Regions from separate parts of the Homo sapiens genome. Here region 1 is linked to region 2. The links are contacts of gene promoters, found by promoter capture Hi-C in blood cells and fetal thymus (Javierre and others, 2016). All regions are on one chromosome and are shown on one strand. The core of a region is centred on a gene start or on the middle of the fragment in contact, and the rest is flanking DNA. Distances in the headings are between cores, read along the strand shown.

Region 1 (3,367 bases), core at 849-3,348, 540 kb before region 2:
ATTTTCAGGATTAAAGCCCAGATTTTAGTGTAGTTTTCGAGGCCCTTCATGAAATCATGCAGCTCTTTCCGCTGCTCTCCTCTCTCCACTTTAATAATACTCAGCTCATGTGACTCCTCCAATGGAATGAGCTCTTGCTTACTTGGTATTGTAGGCTGTGCTGTTTCCTCTGCTGAGAACCCCCTTTTCAGGCATACTTAGCTTAAGTTGACAGGTTTGAATATTGGTTTGCCTGAAAGACTGGTGTAATATACATGAGTCATCCTGTTTTATCACTGAACACATAAACCTCTTTCCTGTGTCCAGAGAATCTCTGACCTCATGGCAGATGCCCCCTCCCACTATAGAAGCTGATAATGCAGGTACTCCCTTTCCAGCCTCCCTTGCTTCTGGGGTATGGACGTGGGCACATGATCTATATTGAGCCAGTAATAATTTTTTACCCTAAACTTTGAACTGTAAGCTTTTGGACCCCAAGAGGCAGGTACCATGCAGAATCCACTCAGCTGACAGTAGCTGTGGCAGTGCTATGCCAATGGTGTTGTGCCTGTGTGCAGCCTGGCATCATTGCTGAACCAGCTCTAGATATGACTTTGGACATTGCTCCTCACTGTATGACTGCTCAGCCTGGTTCTTTAGACCTTTTAGAGGGTACGTGAACTACCTGATAACCTTTTAACCAACCTCTTCTTTGCCCAGATACACCAGAATTGGTATTTGTGGCTTGCAAGTAAAAACCCTGCTTGATTCAGTTACATTTCCAGCATCAATACTTTCAAAGACAGAGAGCAGAACACAGTTGTCTATATTAAACTGCAGTGAAATGACAGATCCCTAATGCATAAAGTTGTATGAAGCTCTTGGTTTGTAGGTAAATGAATAGTCACAAGACTTAGGAGGATCTTGTGCTATATATGCAATGACATGATGAAAGTCACAGGGTTTTCCTAGAAAAGAACACCAGAATATTGCTATGATCATAAAGAATGGTGAAAGTGTAGATGCAGAAATAGCTGTAGAGCTTTTTTTTAATGTATTTTTTTATCATGGTAAAATATAATAACATAATTTGCAATTTTAATTATATTGAGTGTGTAATTTAGTCACATTAATTATAGTCACAGCATTGTGCAGTCATCACCACTATCAATTTCCAAAACTTTTTCATTACCCCAAACAGAAATTCTGTACGCAGCAGGCAATGACTCTCCATTTCCCCCTTCCCCTAGTCCCTGGCAACTTCTGCTTTACTTTCTGTCTCTGTGATGTTGCCTGTTCTAGACATTTCATGTAAAGAAAATAATACATTTATTTGTCCCTTTGTGTCTGGCTTATTTCACTTAGCATTATGTTTTTAAGTCTTACCCATGTTATAGTATGTATCAGAACCTCATTCCTTTTTATGGCTAAATAATATGTCATTGTATGCATATACTGAATTCATTCTTCTGTTGATGGACTCTTGGGTTATTTCCACCTTTTGGCTATTTTAGTACAAATGTAAATAATACTGCAGTGAATATTGGCATACAAATATCTGAGTCCCTGCTTTCAATTCTTGTGAGTATATACCCAGGAGTAGAATCACTGGGTCATATGATAATTCTGTGTTTAATTTTTTGAGAAACTTCCAAACTGTTTTCCGTAGCAGCTGTGCCATTTTGCTTTCCCATCAGCAACGTACGAGGGTTTCAGTTTCTCCATATTCTCGTCAACACTTCATTTTCCATTTTCTAAATTATAGCTAACCTAGTGGATGTGAAGTAGTACCTCCTTGTGGTTTTGATTTGCATTTCCCCAGTGATTACTGATGTTGAGCATCTTTTCATATGTCTGGAGCATCTCAACTATATCATTTGTCTCAAGAGCATCTTGATCAGTTAAGTAAAGTTCCATTTCTGTGATTATCATTTTTCCTAGAAGTAAGAGATTGGGGTTCTCTACTATTTATCATTTTATGGCCAGACTCAGCTCTCAAACATAAGGCTTCCCTGTAAATACCATTAAAGGCTTGACAGCAGCATTTTAAAATTTATGCCTTGTTTTCAACCTGATAAGTGATGTGTGTGCAAAACCTGCAGTTAACATCATACTTAATGGTAAAAGGCTGAATGTTTTCTTTTTCTCTAAGATTGGGAACAAGAAAAAGGGTACCTCCCCTTACCACTTACCAGTTTTATTTAGCATTGTCCAGGAAGTTCTAGCCAAGGGAAGTAGATAAGAAAATAAAATGCATGTCGATTGGAAAGGAAGAAGTAAAACTATTTCTCTTTGCAGGTGATGTGCTCTTGTAAATAGAAAATCCTAAGGAATCCATTAAAAACAATTCAGACGAATAAATGAGTTCAGGTTACAAGAGACAAGAACAATGTACAAAAATGAATTGTATTTCTATACATTAGCAATAAGCAGACTAAATATGAAATTAAGAACACAATTCCATTTATTGTAGCATCAAAAAGAAAAAAATGGAAGACTAAATATTAACATGGTAGTACTTCTCCAATTGATCTATAGATCCAACACAATCCCTATTTTAAATCCTAGCTGACTTATTTTCAAAAATTACAAGTTGATCCTATAATTCATATGGAAATGCAAGGAACCCAGAATAGCTAAAACAATCTTGAAATAAAGAAAATAGTACACGCACTCACATTTCCAAATTTCAAAACTACAGTAATCATAGTAGCATAAGAATGCCCATGTAGTAAAATAATAAATAAATAAAAAGAATGTACATGTAGATCAGTGTACTCAAATTGAGAGGCCAGAAATCAACCTTCACATTTTATGGTCAATTGATTTTCAACAAGAGTTCCACGACAATTCATTGGGGGAAGAATAGTCTTTTCAACAAATGGTGCAAACAGCTGGATATCCACATGTAAAAGGATGAAGTTTGGACTCCATGCTGTGGTCTGTTTCTATCCCCCTAAAATTCATATGTTGAAACCTAATCACCAGTGTTGTGTTAATTATCAGACACCAAATTTGCCAGCACCTTAATCTTGGACTTCCCAGCCTCTGGTACTGTGAGAAATAAATTTCTGTTGTTTATAAGCTATCAAGTATATGGCATTTTGTTTATAGCAGCCTGAATAGACTAACATACACTATATACAAAAATCAACTAAAACTGGATTAATGACCTAAAAGTAAGAGCTGGGGAGGAGGATATGGAAGATGGCAAGAAGGAAAGTTGTATGGACCAGGCCAGGAAGGGGCACATATAACTCCAACTCACATTTCACTGGTTGTGGAAGTCAGCCATGTGGGTATCAGGAGACCATATGGTCACTGGGAAGCTGGGAAATGTGGTCCAGCTCTGTGCCCAGAATAAAGAGGAGATGATTTAGGTGAATAG
Region 2 (3,746 bases), core at 1,106-3,605:
CTGGCAGCACACTGGGCTCACTTGCAGAGCCTGAAAACATCCCTTGGTCTGGGTCTCATCTGGATTTGGGCTGGGGGATGGGGGCAGCCTGAGTCAGGGCTGAGAACCACTTCTTCCCCACACCTTTTTAGTTGTTCATGCTAAGCACAGCTCAACACTAGAATTGAGATCCAATCTCAAAATTATTCACATATCACCCATTTTTGGAGCTAAATGGCACCTTGAATAACATCTAGTCCAATCTCTCATCTAACAGAAGAGGAAACTAAGGTCCTCAAAGGATTCCTAGCCCCCTGTCTCCTCCCATGCTGCTTCTAGCCAGTGCCAGGCTGCCCTGTGGTCTCTGGACCTCAAGACCCTTCATTCAGATGGAGAAGCAAAGGACAGCCTTCAGATCTCCAAGGCCATTTCACTGCCAGAGGATGACCATCAGGCCCCTCTCTCTGCAAGTGAACCCTGAGACAGTGAAATGTTGACACAAGTCCTCTTCCTAACACAATACCAGAACCCAGAGCCAGGGACGTGAAACCGGGAAGCTGCAATGACTCACAGAACGGGAAGCTTACGCTGGCAGTGGGGCAAACACACCAATGTTCCCCTAGGCAGCCTGAGCAGAAGGCAGGTACCATCTCTCCTCCAGGCACTCTGCTTCAGCCGCAGACCACAGAGCCTCTGCTACATTTGCCTTTAAAGCCAGGAGACTCCAGCATGCTAATGCCCCTCGGAGTGGATGGCTGTGGCCTGAGTTCTGGTAACACTCTTGCTCCTAAACAGGGAATTTGTAATAGGATATCTCCACACTTTTCGTTTCACATCCTGTACCCCCAATCATTCCCCCTTTTGAAGCTTAAGATTCCACTATTTCCTTCTCTTAGCAGCTTTGAGAAAAAACCTGAAGCTGGATAGGTGTTAGGAGGGGTGAAACATACACACACCCCTAGCCTCAAAGGTACCCTTCCCTGAGCCCCCAGCTCCTTATGACCAGCCCTCCACCTCTGTTCCAGCCACCTGCCAGGCCCCCCTGCACACAAAGGAGCTGTTCTCACAGAGACCCTCCATCCTACAGCGCAGTCTCTAGACAGCCTTCTAAACCCCAGGCCCAGCAAAACTCCCCACAAAGCATCTCCAGTGGGTTCCGATCTGCCTTCTGTGAGCTTGGAAGGAAAGGGAAGAGGCGAGCAGGCACGGAAGCAGCCAGGGGAGCCCAGTGAACTGCAGGAGCCCAGTTGGGGTTGCAGGGGTTTTCTGCTGCGGGAGAAGCAGAGCAACTAACCAGCGGCCGGGCCTGAGGGACGCCCCTTTCCTGGGGTTGCATGTGTCCTTTAGCTAAGCCGCCTGGGCCACATTCTCGATGGGTTTTTCTTTTCTGCCTGTTAGTGTCTGTGAAGTTGATCAATGGAAGGGCCACGTCCACAAGATCCTGGTTTCATCGTGACATCCCAGACCCACCAGTGCTTCCACATCTGCCCAACAGTCCTCCTGTCGGGGAGGTAGAGGAAGGCGGATTGGAACCTTACTAGAGCCAATTTAACTCAATGTTAATTTAGTTATTAAATGTTAATAAACGTTAGGACATTATTTTTAATATCAATACATAGCTAAATTAGAGAAGATAGTATAAAATTCACATGAACTTTGGAGAGTATTAAAATGACTTCAAAAGCATCTCATCAGAGGCTGCCGTGGGTTCCCCAGGGAACGCTCCCCTCTCCCTGCCTTGTGGATTGCATGAAGATTGCAGAGTTGCGAGTGGGTTACGGTTAGGTCAAGGAGTGCAGATTAGTAATAAAAGCCCCCTTATTACGGTCCGCCCCACTAAGAGCGGCAGGAAAGCCGATCGCCCCCAGCTCTGGTGCAGAAATGAAAGCCGCCGCCGCCCCATGCAACTTTCGGGGAACAACTCCGGCCTCGGGAGGCCGCGCAGGCTGCGCGCGCCCTGGGCCGCTGCGCGTTGACTGCAGCCACCTGTCCTGGTGATCGCCCCACCCTCCGCTCGCGCGTTCCTTCCCGCGAGTCCTACCATGTCCCCGGCGGTGCCCCGGCCGGCTCCTCGGCGCGCTCAGCCGGCTCGCAGACTCATCCCGCCTCCCCTTGGCCGCCCCCGGCGCCGTGGCTCGCCAGGCTTCCCAGGATGCGCGGCTACTCGGCTGGGGCGGGTTTCCCGGACTGAAGGTGCACACGTTCTCTGCAGCCAAGTGGCCCTGCGCCAACTCTCGGGAGATCGCTGCACACCGGGATACTCCGCGGGTGGGGAATACACGCCGGATCTACTGAGATCTACGGGGATCTGAGGGAGCCTACCCGCGGCCGCGAGCCTCTGCGGTCTACTCGGGACTTTTGCAGAGTTTGCAAAGTCCCTGCCGCGCGTCCCGGCCCAGCTTCCCCATTCCCCTGAAAGCGCGGGAGGGGGAAGCTCCCTTCACAATAAAAGCCCTGCCGGGGGCTCGGCCAGCCGCAGTCTTCTGGTCTTCTGGAGTAGGGGCCCAGGTGCTAGGAAGGAAAGGTCTACGCCCTGACTGCCCGCCTGACGGGTGATGCACCAAGGCTGGACGGTGAGGGACGCCTCTAAGGTGTGAGGGTGCTTGGTGAGTTCGCTGCAACTCAGCAATATGGCTGAGTGTTGCCCAAACTGCCACCCTCTCCTGCCAAGCAGGACAAGTCTTTTTCTTTACTGTCGCTTGTCAGAAGGACAAGTCTTTTTTTACTGTCACTTCTTCGCCTTGTTTGGGTTCAGTCCCCAAGAGGATTTGGAAGGAAAATCCGTTGACCACTAAGCTAATTAACAATGAAGAGTTTTTGTCCTTGAGAACTAATCACTGTTAAAGTCACTGAAGTAAGTGGCTGATACCTCTCTGCTTTGGATGCACAGACAGTGCCTTTGTGTCCCCTGAGTCACCTACTGCCAACAAAGGCACAGTCAGAGCAAGACCTGAGAGTCTATCCGTTCCCCGTTGGGGAATGTCCTGGGCTTAGGGGTTCTGTAGTCCCAAAATCAGGGCTAGCCCCACTATTAACAGCTGGATGACCATCGACCAGTCCCCAGACGTCTTTATGACTTGTGTCCCCCAGTGGCCCAATGTTTGGACCCCAGGATTATTAAGAGCCTGTAGACAATGGATGGAGGCGAGGCAGAGTCAGCAGTAGGGTGCTCTGAGAGAATTTGGGGGCCAGGCTGAAAAATTAGCCTCCAGTACTGAAACTAACAGGAAGCATCATTAGCTAGATGAAGACAGGCATCTTCCCAGCAGTCTCCTGCCCCAGAATGATCTGAGGTTATCACTGATGGCAGTGCTTCTAAAGGGAAGCAAAGATCCAGAGAGTCCCCTTAAATTGTGTATGTGTGTATGGGCAGGAGGAACAGATGAAGGGAAAGTATTCGGTCCTTAACATTCCAGATGCTTTCTGTACATTATTTCATTTAATAACCACAAACGATCCTAAAAGGAAAACTTTTGCAAATTAGGAAAGTCAGGATTAGGGAGGTGAAGTAACTTTCCTGAGACCAGATCGCCAGTAAACAGTTTAGCAAATCCAAGTCTATTTGCCAGAACATGAAACAAAGAGGAAGACTTGATATGGCAGGAACAGGAGGCAGGATGTAGCACTGCAAACTGCAGCTTGTCTGTGCATATGGACTACTGAAAGGACAGAGAGTTTGAGCCCTGGTTGGGAAATGAGGGAAGAGGGTGGAGGACAGTACAAACCATTCAGGGTTTTATTTAGATGTTTAGGGAGACGCTGTGATC

Evidence for each region. The method cuts DNA at HindIII sites, captures the fragments that hold promoters and counts their contacts. A CHiCAGO score of 5 or more calls a contact.
Region 1: a fragment that was not itself captured here is called in contact with the fragment with the promoter of GASK1A in region 2 in 1 of 17 cell types (non-activated CD4 T cells); the score reaches 6.6 in non-activated CD4 T cells.

What each region holds. Positions count from the first base shown.
Region 1 is chr3:43,519,997-43,523,363 of GRCh38, reverse strand. The region is part of intron 11 of ANO10 (anoctamin 10); the gene reads left to right. Among named protein-coding and RNA genes, the nearest start is that of ANO10, 100 kb to the left of the region's middle. The HindIII fragment of the contact is 3,266 bases long and covers 466-3,367 here.
Region 2 is chr3:42,977,920-42,981,665 of GRCh38, reverse strand. GASK1A (golgi associated kinase 1A) reads right to left here and starts at 2,355. Exons shown (of 5, transcript NM_001129908.3): 1 at 2,021-2,355. The coding sequence starts at 2,023. The HindIII fragment of the contact is 11,487 bases long and covers 849-3,746 here.